2 separate regions of the Homo sapiens genome follow, and region 2 is linked to region 1. The links are contacts of gene promoters, found by promoter capture Hi-C in blood cells and fetal thymus (Javierre and others, 2016). All regions are on one chromosome and are shown on one strand. The core of a region is centred on a gene start or on the middle of the fragment in contact, and the rest is flanking DNA. Distances in the headings are between cores, read along the strand shown. Region 1 holds the start of TTC14 (tetratricopeptide repeat domain 14). Region 2 overlaps DNAJB11 (DnaJ heat shock protein family (Hsp40) member B11).

Evidence for each region. Contacts are between HindIII fragments. The CHiCAGO score rates a contact against its expected background, and 5 or more counts as called.
Region 2: a contact is called between a fragment that was not itself captured here and the fragment with the promoter of TTC14 in region 1, in 1 of 17 cell types (naive CD8 T cells). The highest score is 5.4, in naive CD8 T cells.

What each region holds. Positions count from the first base shown.
Region 1 is chr3:180,599,914-180,603,953 of GRCh38, forward strand. TTC14 (tetratricopeptide repeat domain 14) reads left to right here and starts at 2,250. Exons shown (of 12, transcript NM_133462.4): 1 at 2,250-2,509; 2 at 2,978-3,102; 3 at 3,211-3,410. The coding sequence starts at 2,349. TTC14-DT (TTC14 divergent transcript) reads right to left here and starts at 2,200. Exons shown (of 3, transcript NR_183700.1): 1 at 1,990-2,200. RefSeq lists an enhancer at 2,041-2,330. The HindIII fragment of the contact is 2,365 bases long and covers 1,906-4,040 here.
Region 2 is chr3:186,572,354-186,576,393 of GRCh38, forward strand. It overlaps DNAJB11 (DnaJ heat shock protein family (Hsp40) member B11), which reads left to right. Exons shown (of 10, transcript NM_016306.6): 3 at 3,487-3,584. Among named protein-coding and RNA genes, the nearest start is that of DNAJB11, 3.7 kb to the left of the region's middle. The HindIII fragment of the contact is 994 bases long and covers 1,668-2,661 here.

The sequences.
Region 1 (4,040 bases), core at 1,000-3,499:
AAGAAAATGAACTCAAATACACCTGTAATTGTAAAAGGCTTTATCCTCTGCAATGGGAGTAGTATTCCGGAAGTAAAGAATAAGACTGCCTTCGGCACCCAACTAATGTGGCTACTTTCACATAAGGAACTAACCAAAGACAGAAAATCCCACGCTGAGTTTTGAGTACATTTGCTTAAAGTGCATTTCTTCTGTCACTACTATACGAAAAATATCACTCTTGATAAATGCTGTTTACCCCCTAAAAGGAGCTGCTTTCTATGTTCACGGCCATTTCAGATGTTCAAGGTATGAGGTGGGGGAGGGTTATCCTAGTGTTGGAATTAGGAAGAAGTATAGACAGATCCCATAGTGATAAAACCATGTGCTACTGAAGAATGGCCTCAGAAGGTGACATTCCCAGGCTAAGTAACACTATTTGGTGTCTGGTTCTCAGACACCGGTTTCTTAGTCCCTCCAAAAAATGAGGTCCTTGATCACAGATTGACTCTAACACAAATCACATACTTATCAAGATGTCTATAATAATTTTTAGTGGTCAGCTTTCCTTTTCAGTGACAGCACTCTTTCCTAAAAACAACCATTCTCTAGAGTTATGGCTTAAAACAAGTCAGTCTGTACCATTTATTAAAGTTGATATGCCTATAGAAGCTTGAAATTTATTTATTTATTTATTTATTGAGACGGAGTCTCCCTCCGGCGCCCAAGCTGGACTGCCGTGGCGCGATCTCAGTTCATTACAACCCCCGCCTCCGGAGTTCAAGAGATTCTCGTGCCTCAGCCTCCCGAGTAGCTGGGACTACAGGCATGAGCCACCACGCTCGGCTAATTTTTGTATTTTTAGTAGAGACGGGGTTAGGCCATGGTGGCCAAGCTGGTCTCTGAACTCCTGACCTCAAGTGATCCACCCTCGGCCTCCCAAAGTACTGGGATTACAGGTGTGAGCCACCGTGCCTAACCCAAATTTATCTTTTACAGTTGCATTCTTGTTTGTTGCATTTTCTCAAGTCTCAAACTGTTTACCTATTTGCCTGGGTTTTCCACAAAACAGTGTGGCAGTATCGATTATGTTCTGGGCTAGATCTCCTATACAAAAGTGGTAACACAGTGAAAGGCAAGTTGATTTCCTCAAAGACACATGGTGGGAAGTGGAGAGACTAACTGTCACCGTTTATTTCTGTTCAAGAGGACTATACTGAACTATTTACACTGAACATATTTAAATGGTACAAATTTTATACTGGAATAAAACGAAGCTACATGATCTCAAAATTAGGGTTAGTTAGACCTTCCATATGATAAAATACTCAATCCAGCAACTCTGCCTGAGAAGACCAATTAATACTTCGTTTGGAATCCTAACTCTAGCCTCTTACTAGCTGTGTGCCATTGAGCAATTTACTGGGACTCTCTGAGCATGTTTCCTCGTTTTCTAAAATGAAAAAGTACAATAGCTACCATAGTGGTTAGGTTCTCAAGTCAGTAAGTAAGGGGATGGGGGACCTAAGTTGAAATTCCCTTTGAAAATCACTTGAATTGTCCATAAGAACAGTATATTGACTTTTGCGTACATACCACTATACAGTAAGTCCCACAGACACTAAATTTTGAGCAACCATTGAGATAAACTAAATAAGAAATGCATGTGTTCATTAGTTATTGTAAAACTTGAATGGCATATGCACGTGTGGAGACATTAAAGCCATCCTGGTTTTAGAATTCACAATCACTAACAGTAAATGGGGTATGGATGGAGAACACCACTCCAGGTGCTTAACAAATGTCCGTGTCCTTCCTTTCTTCTGCCCTTAAAACCACCTGGAAACCTTCCCGGAGCAGCCGGTTGAATGGGGTTACGCCAGAGACACAGGTATTGATTTACGCAGAGAGTACGTCGAGGGAAGAAGCTTGGAGACTCGTATAGGGTTCTTACCCTGGCACTGGCACTTAGAAGCACCTTGATGAATACGAAAAGGAATTATTATTTACCCTAGGTTACAGCTCGAGCTATTTCGACGTAATAACGATCCCACGTACACTTTAAAAAGCAAACTTCTCACATACATCACTTCCTGGAAGCCCTAGTCAGCCTTTAGCCCAAGCAATGCTGAGCCCAATCCTTCGGCCTTCCGTAGTCTCGCTCGGTTTCGCGAGATCGAGGCTGAGCTCCGCCGCGCCGCCGTGGGGGCGACCCCAGAACACTTCCGGGTGTAACTGGTTGTGCTGTCTGTGTACTTCCGGCAGCCTCCAGACAGTTTCTTCCGCTTCCTGTACCACCCGGCTCAAGTAGCGGACACGGAACAGGGAACTATCAGCCCGTCGGCCTCCGGGCCCTGCATTCTCTAGCCATGGACCGGGACCTTTTGCGGCAGTCGCTAAATTGCCACGGGTCGTCTTTGCTCTCTCTACTTCGGAGCGAACAGCAGGACAATCCACACTTCCGTAGCCTCCTGGGGTCGGCCGCCGAGCCAGCCCGGGGCCCGCCGCCCCAGCACCCGTTGCAGGGCAGGTAATGAGACGTTGGTGCCACTGCGCCACGGAAGAGGGGACGCAGCTCTGGCAGCCACTACCGCAGCCCCGGGTTTGCGTCTAGAGGAAGTGGAGCCGCGGCCGTGAGCACAGGACGATCGCGCGCTGGTGTCTTGGGCTGGGTGGACGGGGGGCGCTCCTGGGTTGTGCAATGCGGGATGCGGGCTGAACTTTTTCTCTGGCACTGCTTGGTAGAGGCGCAGATTCCTTAGCTAAAAATCCCTTGAGCTTTCCTATCTGAGTTGGAGGCGTCACTTTTTAAGTTTCCCCGCTCTCCACCTCCAGGTTGGTTAATGAGGGAATGCCTAGTTAAAACTTTTTGTCTGAGGTTGTATTGTCTGCAGCTTAGGATGGAGCGGAATGGGCGATGAAAGCCATAAGCAGAAGGTTAGAAGTAAAGAGGCTTTGCAGATAACCCAATTTTCATATATATTTTTTTCTTTTTAAGAAAAGAGAAGAGAGTTGACAACATCGAGATACAGAAATTCATCTCCAAAAAAGCGGATCTGCTTTTTGCACTTTCCTGGAAATCAGATGCACCTGCAACTTCTGAAATTAATGAAGACAGTGAAGGTCAGTTTAGCCTTAAAATCTTTAAGATTGCGGTTCGGTTTAACAGTACTTCAGGTGAAACGGAACTCAAAACTATCGTTAGTGATTTTGTTAATTTTTTTTTTTTAGATCATTATGCAATCATGCCACCTTTAGAGCAATTCATGGAGATACCTAGTATGGATCGGAGAGAGCTGTTTTTCCGAGATATTGAGCGTGGTGATATAGTGATTGGAAGAATTAGTTCTATTCGGGAATTCGGTTTTTTCATGGTGTTGATCTGTTTAGGAAGTGGTATCATGAGAGATATAGCCCACTTAGAAATCACAGTAAGTTATTTTTGTTACTTGGATTGCTTCTGTTTTTGTTAACGCATCTCAATGCAAGAACTATATCTTTGCATGCAGTTGTGCTCAAGTATACCTGCCAAGATGCTTTTGGAAATTAAATGTTAATTGGAGAAAAATAGTTTAAAAAAATTAGTGTAAGTTACCCAGTTTCTCCCTCCATTTCTGGTTTTTGGGATTTTTTAAATTTAAACTGGTTGGCAGGCACAGTGTTCTTTTCTAAATGCTCAAAGAGGTATCAGTGGACGTGGTGAGGTTGATTGATATTCAGACTTATTTCTTGTAGTTGAACATATGTATTCTTAATTAGTTAATATTTGGCATTGTATATTTTCATGTGGATAATTTGGAGAGAAGTTTCATTTATATATTTACAATAATTAAATGTAAGTGGTTTGTACATTATATTAAGATACTTTGCCCAAGATGGATAGTCCTGAATTTAAACTAATGTGTCACGATAAAAGATTGGGTATTTGCCATCTATCCAGGCAGATAAAAAGGAAGAAAAGCAGAAGGTATTACAGATTGGATAACAGACAAAATACTTTGGAGAATTGGCATTTCATTTTCACTGGAATCCTTATACCTTTTAGACAAATTTTAGTTTGT
Region 2 (4,040 bases), core at 915-3,414, 6.0 Mb after region 1:
TATTTATTTTGAGACTGAGTCTCTATTGCCTAGGCTGGAGTGCAGTGGTGCAATCTCCGCTCACTGCAACGTCCACCTCCTGGGTTCAAGCAGTTCTCCCGCCTCAGCCTCCCAAGTAGCTGGGATTACAGGTGCATGCCACCACACCTGGCTAATTTTTGTATTTTTAGTAGAGACAGGGTTTCACCCTGTTGGCCAGGCTAGTCTTGAACTTATTATAGATTAATAAGTAGATCAACTGATTGGTCTGTCGTTCAATCAGTTTGGGAGCTAGAACCAAAAATAAAAAGAAAGCCTTCATGAGAGTTGCAAACCTGCATGTTCATATGAACTAGACAAATAACATGCAGGGCAGGTATAAGTTAAAACATGGCAGCAGATATTCTGCCTCCATATTGGGAAGCAATAAGGATTGTTGAGGACTTTGACAAACTGAAGCCTTCTGGCCCCATTTCAAGGGAGCAGCTGTTACTCAACCCCAGCCAGTTTTTGTCATACAAATGCAAACAGTATGTTCCTGGATGATTTAATTTTTCAAGAAAAGTTGAAAATCTAGATTTTTTATATGAGTTCTGCTTGTAAAAGTGTTGGTAACTAATTCAGTTAAATTTCTTTTTTACATAAATCAAACAGAGCACAGTTTTAATTTGATTTTGCAACCTCTAATCTGGGGATCAAAACACTCTCATGTGTATCATCTCATTTAATCTTCACTAGGACACCAGGAAATATATTAGAGCTAGGCATATTTTTATTCTCATTTTCTAAATGGACACAGAAAAAAATTAATTGAACTAAAAGTCATAGAGCTAAAACTCCTGAATTTAAGTTTAAATTCTTGTATATTGAGAAGGCTAAAAACAAATTGAAAAATATTTTAGGAAGACACAAACCTTGAAAGGAAGGAATCCCAAGATCTCTAGATTAAAGAAGCAATGGAATTGAAACAGTGAGTTATACCCAGGTGAACCCAAGAGCTGTTGGGGTCCTTTCATCTTTCAACACCTTCAGGGATCCTATGGGGCAGAAATTCTTTTTTATTTTTTTTTGAGACAGAGTCTCGCTCTGTCTGCCAAGCTGGAGTAGAGTGGCACGATCTCGGCTCACTGCAAGCTCCGCCTCCTGGGTTTTACGCCATTCTCCTGCCTCAGCCTCCTGAGTAGCTGGGACTACAGCTGTGCACCACCATGCCCAGCTAATTTTTTGTATTTTTAGTAGAGACAGGGTTTCACTGTGTTACCCAGGATGGTCTCGATCTCCTGACCTCATGATCCACCCGCCTCGGCTTCCCAAAGTGCTGGGATTACAGGCATGAGCCACCGTGCCTGGCCAAGGGACAGAAATTCTTAACCTGAGGCACATCAATAAACTTGGGAAGGTTAATGGCCCATCCTAAATTATATGTAATATTTTGTTTCTTGTTGATAATATGCATTCTATATTTTGCACTGTATTTTCCATGAATAGTCCCCTTGTTTGCTAGGAACCTAATACTCAAAAACATTTTCTAGGGAAGCTGAATTTACCATGCTCTCTAAAGAATCTTCACGTTCTTTATCAATGACCTAGGCAGGCTATACAAAGGTCAGTCATGAAATCGTGGCTTATTTAACTATAACAATCCTTTTAGCCACTAGTTCAAATTTCTGTTTTCTTTTTATCATTCAAGCTTGATTGCCTTTAGTCTTAGGTAAATTAGTGTTCACAAATTAGAATCCGAGTACAGTTATGAAGAATCTTTTGTGAATACAAATTTGTTTTCTCTACAGAGCTAGGATCACTGCTGGCATTTTAATTACTTGAGAATCTGTGTATTGGTTGGCCAATCAACTAAAAACCTTTTTTCTTTTAAAATAGTTTCCAAGACCATAGAATAAAATTGCATTCCTTGATGGAAGAAAAGTGAGGAGGAAGTAAATGATAATGACTTCAAGAGTAGTTTTTAGGGGGTTATTACAGAAGCCTCTGATGTCTAAAAAGAAACTGACTTAAAACTAGTCTTTGGGGGTTTTGAAATGGTGTTTTTTATAGTCTCAAATGCAGGGTTCATTTATTTGTGAAGATCAGATCAGAGAAGTAGACTAAAAGTGAAAATATTGGAGATCCAGTTAATAATAAGGGTTTTTTTTTTTTTCAAGTTAATTGTGCCCATTTCTGCTTCCCCAAAGTACCTATTTTCTAAAGATACTTGTGAAAACATGCTTTCCTCTCCCTTTTTCTTTCATAGTGGCTGTAATCAAGTACTGTGGTCACTTCTGGAATAACCCATTTGCCTTTGCTTTTAAGAATGTTCACTCTCTTGTATACTCAATTTCTATTTATCCTTTCAAGGATATCTTAAATGTTAATACATTTTTGCCATGACTCCTTACACCTCATTTGGGCCCTAAGCCAAAAATGTGTCCTGTGTGAATATGCCTTTCTTTTAAGTCAACAAGCCCCGTCTACTTTGAACCTCTCTTTTTCTGGGCCACCATGAGTGTGGTTTTGAAATAACTCTCTCCTTCAGACTCTTGTCTAAGTAGGAGTTTATAAATATCAAAGGAAGATTTTAAAGCCATTTAATTTTCACAAGTATATATGTGCATATATATCAGATTGCTCTAAATAAAAGAGAAAGTTTTTTTTTGCATGTTGAAGGCAAATTTTGAAAAGGATGGAAGCTTATTTTGTTGTTACATTCTTTAATATACAGAGAGAAAGCATATAGTCATGATTGTGTATGTAGTTCTCTGAAACTTAAAACTTCAAGAATTATTTCAAGCAATGAAATTGACCTTGAATAACCTTCATAGAGTATTTTTACTTACTACTCTTTCTGCATTTCAAACTCAGGACATTACAAACTTAAACATATATATATATGGCAGGCAAAATTCTTCCACAAATGGATTTCTGCATATACCAAAAAATGAAAAAAGGAGGATGAAAAGATATCAGTGTAGGCCTCTCTGGAGGGCCTGTCATTTGATTTCCTTGACTTGACAATCTCCTAATACATGCGCGCGCGCGCGCGTGTGTGTGTGTGTGTGTGTGTGTCTGTGTGTGTGTGTTTTGGGTAGGGGGTGTTATAGACCTGTGGGGCCAAGTTGTTCTGAAGGCAGTATAGTGGTTAACAGCATAAGCACCAAAGTCAAACTGCATGGGAAGTAAACCTGAGGAATCCGTCTTAACTCTTTCCTGTCACCACCCTGACCTTCACAGCTGCATTGCTAATCTCAGGTATTATTTTTTAGTGACTACACGAGTTTTGAGAACTTTAAATTAAAAACATGAATGGAGCAATGTGGAATGAACAGTGCATCAAAGAATTTAGTCTTAGAGAAAATAACTTTGTAAATATGCCTTAATACAGTACATAATGGAAACTGCATTCTATTAAAATTTTAGACCCACTGTCAAAGTAAAAACAAACATAAATATGACTGTGCCTTAACTGGATATTACCAACTCATGATCTTTTCCTCCACTGGCTTTTATCCCCAGGTTCTGTCAGATAGTGAGAAACGGAAACAGTACGATACTTATGGTGAAGAAGGATTAAAAGATGGTCATCAGAGCTCCCATGGAGACATTTTTTCACAGTGAGTAATTTACCCATCTGCAAAGTGTTAGTGTCTGAGAGAGGGTCACTTAGCGATTAAAGAATTATTCTCATTCCCTAGTTCAGAAACTTTTGATGAACAGTACAATTTAGCTGATCCAAAGATCAATTATTGTCCTCCCTGTGGGAAGATAGTCTTCTATTTTCACAAAGCTTCAGGAAAGACTGATGGCACTGAAAGGACATTCCATCTAGCCAACCATATCAGTTAAATCAGTGCAGACAATTCACGGGGACATGTGTTGGAAATCAGTTCATCCTTGCCTACTTGCTACCTTGCAATCTGCAAACCACTTAATGAGCAAAATTATTGTTAGCAGAGATAGAAAAATTCCTGCTCCCATACCCAGAGCTGCCTCTCTTTCGTGCTATCAACAAGTGAGGGTGATTATAATAACCAGCATTAGGGGAAGGAATTAGGGTAGAGGACCTTTAT